Linked DNA regions of Homo sapiens: region 2 is linked to region 1. Evidence: promoter capture Hi-C in 16 types of primary human blood cells and fetal thymus (Javierre and others, 2016). All regions are on one chromosome and are shown on one strand. Each heading gives the region's core, a stretch centred on a gene start or on the middle of the fragment in contact. The rest is flanking DNA. Distances are from core to core; before and after follow the strand shown. Region 1 holds the start of CXorf65 (chromosome X open reading frame 65). Region 2 holds the start of LOC124905198 (a long non-coding RNA gene).

What was found. The method cuts DNA at HindIII sites, captures the fragments that hold promoters and counts their contacts. A CHiCAGO score of 5 or more calls a contact.
Region 2: a fragment that was not itself captured here is called in contact with the fragment with the promoter of CXorf65 in region 1 in 2 of 17 cell types (naive CD4 T cells and M2 macrophages); the score reaches 5.7 in naive CD4 T cells.

Annotation. Positions count from the first base shown.
Region 1 is chrX:71,104,275-71,108,066 of GRCh38, forward strand. It overlaps CXorf65 (chromosome X open reading frame 65), which reads right to left and starts at 2,466. Exons shown (of 6, transcript NM_001025265.3): 1 at 2,258-2,466; 2 at 2,066-2,152; 3 at 1,726-1,863; 4 at 495-563; 5 at 24-130. The coding sequence starts at 2,282. IL2RG (interleukin 2 receptor subunit gamma) reads right to left here. Exons shown (of 8, transcript NM_000206.3): 8 at 3,130-3,647. The coding sequence ends at 3,462. The HindIII fragment of the contact is 6,290 bases long and covers 1-3,792 here.
Region 2 is chrX:71,344,571-71,348,509 of GRCh38, forward strand. LOC124905198 (a long non-coding RNA gene) reads left to right here and starts at 3,394. Exons shown (of 3, transcript XR_007068263.1): 1 at 3,394-3,939. The HindIII fragment of the contact is 5,105 bases long and covers 1-3,939 here.

The DNA of each region.
Region 1 (3,792 bases), core at 1,216-3,715:
AGATCACATTTGGCAAGTCTTACCGGGACACTCGCAGGGGGTTCAATTATAACGACCTTCTTGGCTTCTTTCATTTTAAGCATCTGAATTCGTCTCCTCTCCAGGGCATCACATTGTATGCGCAGTGCAACTAAGAACAAGGAAAAGGCACCTGCACCTCTGAGAACTAGAGACCTTACCCTTCCTGATGCTCCCATTCATTGTTCAAACCATCAGCTGGAGCCCCACTTGGCCTAAGATGGAAATGATGGAATGGTGACAGGGAGATATACGGAGAAGATGGCCAAGAAATGGGGGAAGTGGGGAGTAACGCATGCACATTCCACCTGGTGTGAGCTAAACGTCCCTCCTAAAGTGGACCTGGACCCTGCCCGCCTTTTCCTAGGCTCCTATCATCTGACCTACCATATCACGCTAGTCCCACCCTACATTCTCCATCACACAGCTATATACTGTACCCTTCATGTTCTTCCCTCCCCCATCTCACTTCTTACCAAGCAGCCAAGGCTCCGGATTCTTGAGGAGAGGCACAAAAGCTCTGTAAGCATTCTCCAGCCTGGTTCCTGTGAACATAGCCATGTGCTATCTCCAGCCCCTGTCATCCAGTCTCCACCCTTCAGAAGTCCAAGATTCCAGGACCTAACACTAAAGACTACCCGCCAGATGCGGTGGCTCACGCCTGTAATCCCAGCATTTTGGGAGGCCAAGGTGGGCGGATCACTTGAGGTCAGGAGTTCCAGACTAGCCTGGCCAATTCGAGACTAGCCTGGCCAATTTGGTGAAACCCCATCTCTACCAAAAATACAAACAAACAAAAAAAATTAGCTGGGCATGGTGGTGGGCGCCTGTAATCCCAGCTACTCCGGAGGCTGAGGCAGGAGAATCACTTGAACCCAGGAGGCAGAGGTTGCAGTGAGCCAAGATCATGCCACTGTTTCAGCCTGGGTGACAGAGCAAGACTCCATCACAAAAAATAAAATAAATAAATAAATAAAAATAAAGACTACCTTGCCGGGCACAGTGGCTCACGCCTGTAATCCCAGCACTTTGGGAGGCTGAGGTGGGTGGATCACCTGAGGTCAGGAGTTCAAGACCAGCTTGGCCAACATGGTGAAACCCCATCTGCACTAAAAAATTAGTTGGGCCTGGTGGCGGGTGCCTGTAGTCCCAGCTACTCAGGAGGCTAAGACAGGAGAATCGCTTGAACCTGGGAGGCAGAGGTTGCAGTGAGCTGAGATCGCGCCATTGCACTCCAGCCTGGACAACTGGACAACAAGAGCGAAACTCTGTCCCAAAAAAAAAAAAAAAAAAACCTACCTTGAGCTGGTGGATATTTCTTCCCCTTAGGTATGGACCTAGGGGAGAGTATGTGTGAGGTAACCTATTATTATAGAGGCAGTACCCTTCCTTAGGCTGACTAGAGATGGTCAATTTGGATCTGGTTGAGGGTGTTCTGTTGTTTGAGGGTGTTCTGTTTTTTGTTTTAATTTGGTTTTGGTTGTTTTTGGTTTTGGTTTTGGTTTTGGAGGCAGGCTCTTGTTATGTTGCCCAGGCTGGTCTCAAACTCCTGCCCTCTATCGATTCTCCCGCCTTGGCCTCTCAAAGTGCTGAGATTACAAGCATGAGCCACTATGCCCAGCCTTGGATGCCTTGTTTTAAAGATAAGGTTCATAATCTATCTTGAAGGCCTTATTCTATTTCTGGGGAACACTCCTGAGCCTCTACCTGGTGGCCCACGTTCCACCTTACAAACGTAGTAGGTGCTTCGAGCTGTAAGGTATTTGCTGGCATACTCTGCATGATTGGGCTTCATCAGGAAAAGCATCTTCATTTTCCCCGTTTGTTCACACAAATCGATGGTGTCTGGAGGGAGATCACAGGGTAATTGGGGCAGCTAAGGAAAGAGAGTGGGAGCAAAAGGGGCCAGTGATCCTATACAAAATGGGTTGGAGGAAGCTCTAAGGATATGAGGAACTCCCTTCTTGCCAGGAGGAGGGCTTGGGGGTTAGAGATGACCCAACTCCTTCTGACCTTTGGCCATTAGTCCCCTCCCTAAGCTCCTCACTTGTTTTAGGCAACTTTACTTTACTGCGGATGTAATACAGCAACACGACGACAGCACAGTTGGTATTGACCAGAAACTGCTGATTATCTGAGAAGAGATAGGATGGGACACATGGGCCCATTTCTGTGATCTCCACTGCCCTCAGATCCCTCCACCCCCATCCACAGACTCTAGTTCTGTGCTGCCCCTCACCTCCATGTTTGATGAAGATGAACATGCCCTCAAGATCGCCTCACTCTTCACAAAGTGCCCTGATGAGTCATGCAGAAGGAGGGTGTTCTAGAGGCCTTGTGTGGGGCAAATAGGCCTATAGGGTTGGTGGACTAGAGAGGCAGATGGATTTCATAGGCTGAGGATGCCCAGGCTGGACAGGCAGGAGAGAGCTGTTGATAGTTGTGGATAACCAGTATCCCCAGGGGTGGGGCCTGAGACTGCAGTTAAGGGATTATGAGGTCAGAAGTGGCAGGTGTGGCCAAAAAGTGGAGTAAGGGTAAGGAGAGAAAAACTTGGGTGGGGTATGTTAAAGATTAGTTGGAAAGGGGGGACAACATGGTAAGTCTAACTTTTTTTATTTTTTTTATTTTTTTAGATGGAGTCTCCCTCTGTCGCCCAGGCTGGAGTGCAGTGGCACAATCTTGGCTCACTGCATCCTCTACCTCCTGGGTTCAAGCGATTCTCCTGCCTCAGCCTCCCAAGTAGCTGGAATTACAGGAGCACACCATCACGCCTGGCTAATTTTTGTATTTTTAGTAGAGACGGGGTTTCACCATGTTGGCCAGGCTGGTCTCGATCTCCTGACCTCGTGATCCACCCGCTTTGGCCTCCCAAAGTGCTGGGATTACAGGCGTGAGCCACCACGCCCAGCCCATTGTAAGTCTAACTCTAAACTAAACCCTGGAATGAGTGCAGGGCACCTGGAAAAAAGTCAGTTTCCAGAACAGTACTCTTTCTAGCAAATTGGTAATACTCCTGCCTCCACAGCATGAATGTACTACTCCTTTTTCTTCCCCTCCCACCCTCATTGCATCCCAGGCTTCCCCTGCTCCCCACCCCCATGACAGACATTTTTGATGATTATCAACAGAAACTTTATTTCTCATCGGTTCAGGAACAATCGGAGGGTAGATGGAAAGAGGAAGGGAGGGAAAGAGGGAGGGAGGAAGAATCCTGCGAAAAGGAAGGGCCAGACTGAGGGAGAAGAAAAACATGTTCGGGGCAAAAGGGTAATTCTCAAGTGGGGAATGCCAAATGAAGGGGTGCTTACATGGGGGCACAAAATTCCAAATCAGCCACAGTGGGGTGAGGTGAGTATGAGACGCAGGTGGGTTGAATGAAGGAAAGTTAGTACCACTTAGGGCTACAGGACCCTGGGGTTCTTCTGTCAGAGGATTGGGGTTCAGGTTTCAGGCTTTAGGGTGTAACATGGGGGGGCCCAGTAGGGGCTATGCTGGTTGCATGGGGAGGCCCCAGGCCCCTCCCCAAGGGCCCCTCCTTTTGGGGGAATCTCACTGACGAGGCAGAGTCGTTCACTGTAGTCTGGCTGCAGACTCTCAGCCAGTCCCTTAGACACACCACTCCAGGCCTAAAGACAGATATGTCCAGGTCAGGGGTCAATTAGGGGCAGGAAGTAAAAGACCGAGCTCTGTGCCAAAGGAGTACTCATGATGTCTGCAACCACTGTAATTGATTACAGAAGGGATACACAGGCTCCTGGGCCCCCAATACCA
Region 2 (3,939 bases), core at 739-3,238, 240 kb after region 1:
TAGCCAGGATGGTCTCAATCTCCTGACCTCGTGATCCGCCCACCTCGGCCTCCCAAAGTGCTGGGATTACAGGTGTGAGCCACCGCGCCCAGCCTCATTTTATTTTTGAGACTGAGTTTCGCTCTTGTTGCCCAGGCTGGAGTGCAATGGCGCAATCTCGGCTAACAGCAACCTCTGCCTCTGGGTTCAAGCGATTCTCCTGCCTTAGCCTCCCGAGTAGCTGGGATTACAGGCATGCGCCACCACGCTCAGCCAATTTTGTATTTTTATTAGAGACGGGGTTTCTCCATGTTGGTCAGGCTGGTCTCGAACTCCCGACCTCAGGTGATCTGCCTGCCTCGGCCTCCCAAAGTGCTGGGATTATAGTCATGAGTCACCGCACCCGGCCAACAATTATTTATTTATTTATTTTTCCGATGGAGTCTCACTCTGTCACCCAGGCTGGAGTGCAGTGGCATGATCTTGGCTCACTGCAACCTCCAACTCCTGGGTTCAAGCGATTCTCGTGCCTTAGCCTCCCGAGTAGCTGGGATTACAGGTGCGTGCCACCATGCCCGGCTAATTTTTGTATTTTTAATGGAGACAGGGTTTACACCATGTTGGCCAGGCTAGTCTTGAACTCCTGACCTCAAGTGATCCACCCACCTCGGCTTCTAAAAGTGCTGGGATTACAGGCATGAGCCACCATGCCCAGTCAGCTCAACAATAGCACACTGTTCTTTGTTCTCTTTTTCCATTCTGATGCTAGAGTTTGATAGTAGGGGAGGTTGTGGGGTGCAGCACGGAATATATGGGAACTCTCTGTACTTTCCACTTGATTTTACTGTGAACTTAAAATTGCTCTAAAAAATAAAGTCTATTTTTGGTAGAAACAGGGTTTCATCGTGTTGCCCAGGCTAGTCTCAAACTCCTGAGCTCATGCAATCTGCCCACTTCAGCCTTGCAAAGTGCTGGAATTATTAGGCATGGGCCACTGTGCCCAACCTGGAAATATATTAATGTAAGGTTTGTTTTTTTTTTGAGGGAGTCTCGCTCTATTGCCCAGGCTGGAGTGCAGTGGCATGATCTCGGCTCACTGTAATCTCCACCTCCCAGGTTCAAGCGATTCTCCTGCCCCAGCCTCCCGAGTAGCTGGGACTACAGGCATGCACCACCACACCTGGCCAATTTTTGTATTTTTAGTAGAGATGGGGTTTTGCCATGTTGGCCAGGCTGGTCTCGCACTCCTGACCTCAGATGATCTGCCTGCCTCAGCCTACCAGTGTGCTGAGATTACAGGCGTGAGCAACCGCACCTGGCCTATTAATGTAAGGCTGTTACACTCTCTGTGAAATAGTATAATATTTGAAGGTAGATGGAGATAGGTTAAAAATGTCTCTATAAACCTGTAAGCAACCACTAAAACAAGGAGGAATAGCTAATAACCCAATATAGGAGATATAATGGAATAAAAGTAATATTGACTAATCCAAAAGAAGTCAGAAAAAGAGAACAAAGAGATGGGACGAATAAAAACAAGATGATAGACCCAAATCTAATTATATTAACAATCATTAAACTTAGATGTTCTTAACACCCTAATTACAGGGTAGAGATGATCAGATTGGGTAGAAAAGCAAGATTTGCCAGGTGCAGTGGTTCACACCTATAATTTCAGCACTTTGGGAGCTGAAGGCAGGTGTATTGCTTGAGCCCAGGAGTTCAAGACCAGCCTGGGCAACACAGAGACCTGTCTCTGCAAAAAGTAAAACTAGACAGGTGGCTGGGCACGGTGGCTCACGCCTGTAATCCTAGCACTTTGGGAGGCCGAGAAGAGCAGATCACCTGAGGTCAGGAATTTGAGACCAACCTGGCCAACATGGCGAAGCCCCCTCTCTACTAAAAATACAAACATTAGCCAGGTGTGGTGGCGCGTGCCTGTAGTCTCAGCTACTTAGGAGGCTGAGGCAGGAGAATCGCTTGAACCCGGGAGGTGGAGGTTGCAGTGAGCCGAGATTGCACCACTGCACTCCAGCCTGGATAACAGAGCGAGACTCTGTCTCAACAAAACAAAACAAAACATAACAAAACAAAACAGCAAAGACACAGGCCGCATGCATAATTCTAACACTTTGGGAGGCTGAGGTGGGCAGATCACTTGAGCCCAAGAGTTCGAGACCAGCCTGGGCAACATGGTGAAACCCTGTCTCTACAAAAAATACAAAAATTAGCTGGGCATGGTGGTGCTCGCCTGTAGTGGAGAGGCTGTGGTGGGAGGATCACCTGAGCCCAGGAGGTGGAGGCTGGGGTGAGCTGTGGTCATATCACTGCACTCCAGCCTAGGGACAGAGTGAGATTCTGTCTCAAAAAATAAATGAATAAAGAAATAAAATTAATTAAAAATTTTAAATTTATTTTAAAATTATAAAAACAATAAATAAAAATTAAAAATGTAATATACCAAAAACCACTGAATTGTAAATTTTAAATGGTGTATGAATTTATATCTCAGTAAAGCTGTACGATTCCATTTATATAAAACTCTTGGAAATTCAAACTAATGTACACTGATAGAAAGGAACTGTAATTCTCGCACTACCTCATTGTCTTTTTTTTTTTTTAAGATTATATTTGTTTTGGAGACTGGGCTCTCGCGATGTTGCCTAGGCTGGACTTGAACTCCTGGGCTCAAGCGATCCTCTCCCACTCAGCCTCCAGAGTAGCTGGGACTACAGGCGGGCACCACCACACTCGGTTTGTGTTTTTGTTTATCTTTTTAAGAATTATTTTATTAAAAAAAATTATTTTTTGGTTTGTTTGTTGAGACAGAGTTTCGTTCTTGTTGCCCAAGCTGGAGCGCAATGGTGCGATTTTGGCTCATTGCAAGTTCAAGTGATTCGCGTGCCTCAGTCTCCTGAGTAGCTGGGATTACAGGCATGCACCGCCACGCCTGGCTAATTTTGTATTTTTAGTACAGATGGGGTTTCACCATGTTGGTCAGGCTGGTCTCGAACTCCTGACCTCAGGTCATCGCACCTCTGTCTCCCAAAGTGTTGGGATTACAGGCGTGAGCCACCGCACCTGGCCTTTTTTTTTTTTTTTTTTTTTGAGATGGAGTTTTGCTCTTGTCACCCAGGCTGGAGTGCAATGGCATGATCTTGGCTCACTGCAACCTCGGCCTCCCGAGTTCAAGCGATTCTCCTGCCTCAGCCTCCCGAGCAGCTGGGATTATAGGCGCATGCCACTATACCCGGCTAATTTTTGTATTTTTAGTAGAGATGGGGTTTCATCATGTTGGTCAGGCTGGTCTCGAACTCCTGACCTCAGTTGATCCCCTCCCCCTCCCCCCATCGCCACCTCGGCCTCCCAAAGTGCTGAGATTACAGGCGTGAGCCATCGCGCCCACCCAAATTTTTTTTTTTTACCTCATTGTCTTTACTTACTTTTTTTTTTTCTCTCAAATACTTTCTCATGTCCGTGTCTCTTTAAGTTCATATTAGTCCAAAGGAGAAAATAGGACTTGGGGATCTGGGGAACACGGGGTGGTCTCACTTTGCCAAGGGAAAGATGAGGTTTGGGGGTTCCTGGGCTGAGTAACTCGTACTGAGGTCGCGATCTAAGTAGTCCTCGATTACCTGAAGATGTAGTGTAGAAGCCTGTGACTTACAGTGAGGCTGGCCCTAGAACTTCACTTCCCAGGAGGTTTCAGGCATCGAGTGGAGACTGTGTCCGACAGCGGAGTGGGACTTGGTCGCAGTTCGCAGAACCTGCCCAGCCCAACTCAAGACGCCCGGGAGGCTCTGGCGTTCGAATGGCTCTGGAGAACGATCGGATTGAGAACCCCCGAGCCAATCCCTAACTGCGATCTTCTCTCTCCGAGTCTCCCTATCCCCCAGGAGCTTGTTTTAGAGACGGTTGTCTTATGAGCCACTCCCTGGATGGAAGGGATTTGAGGATGGG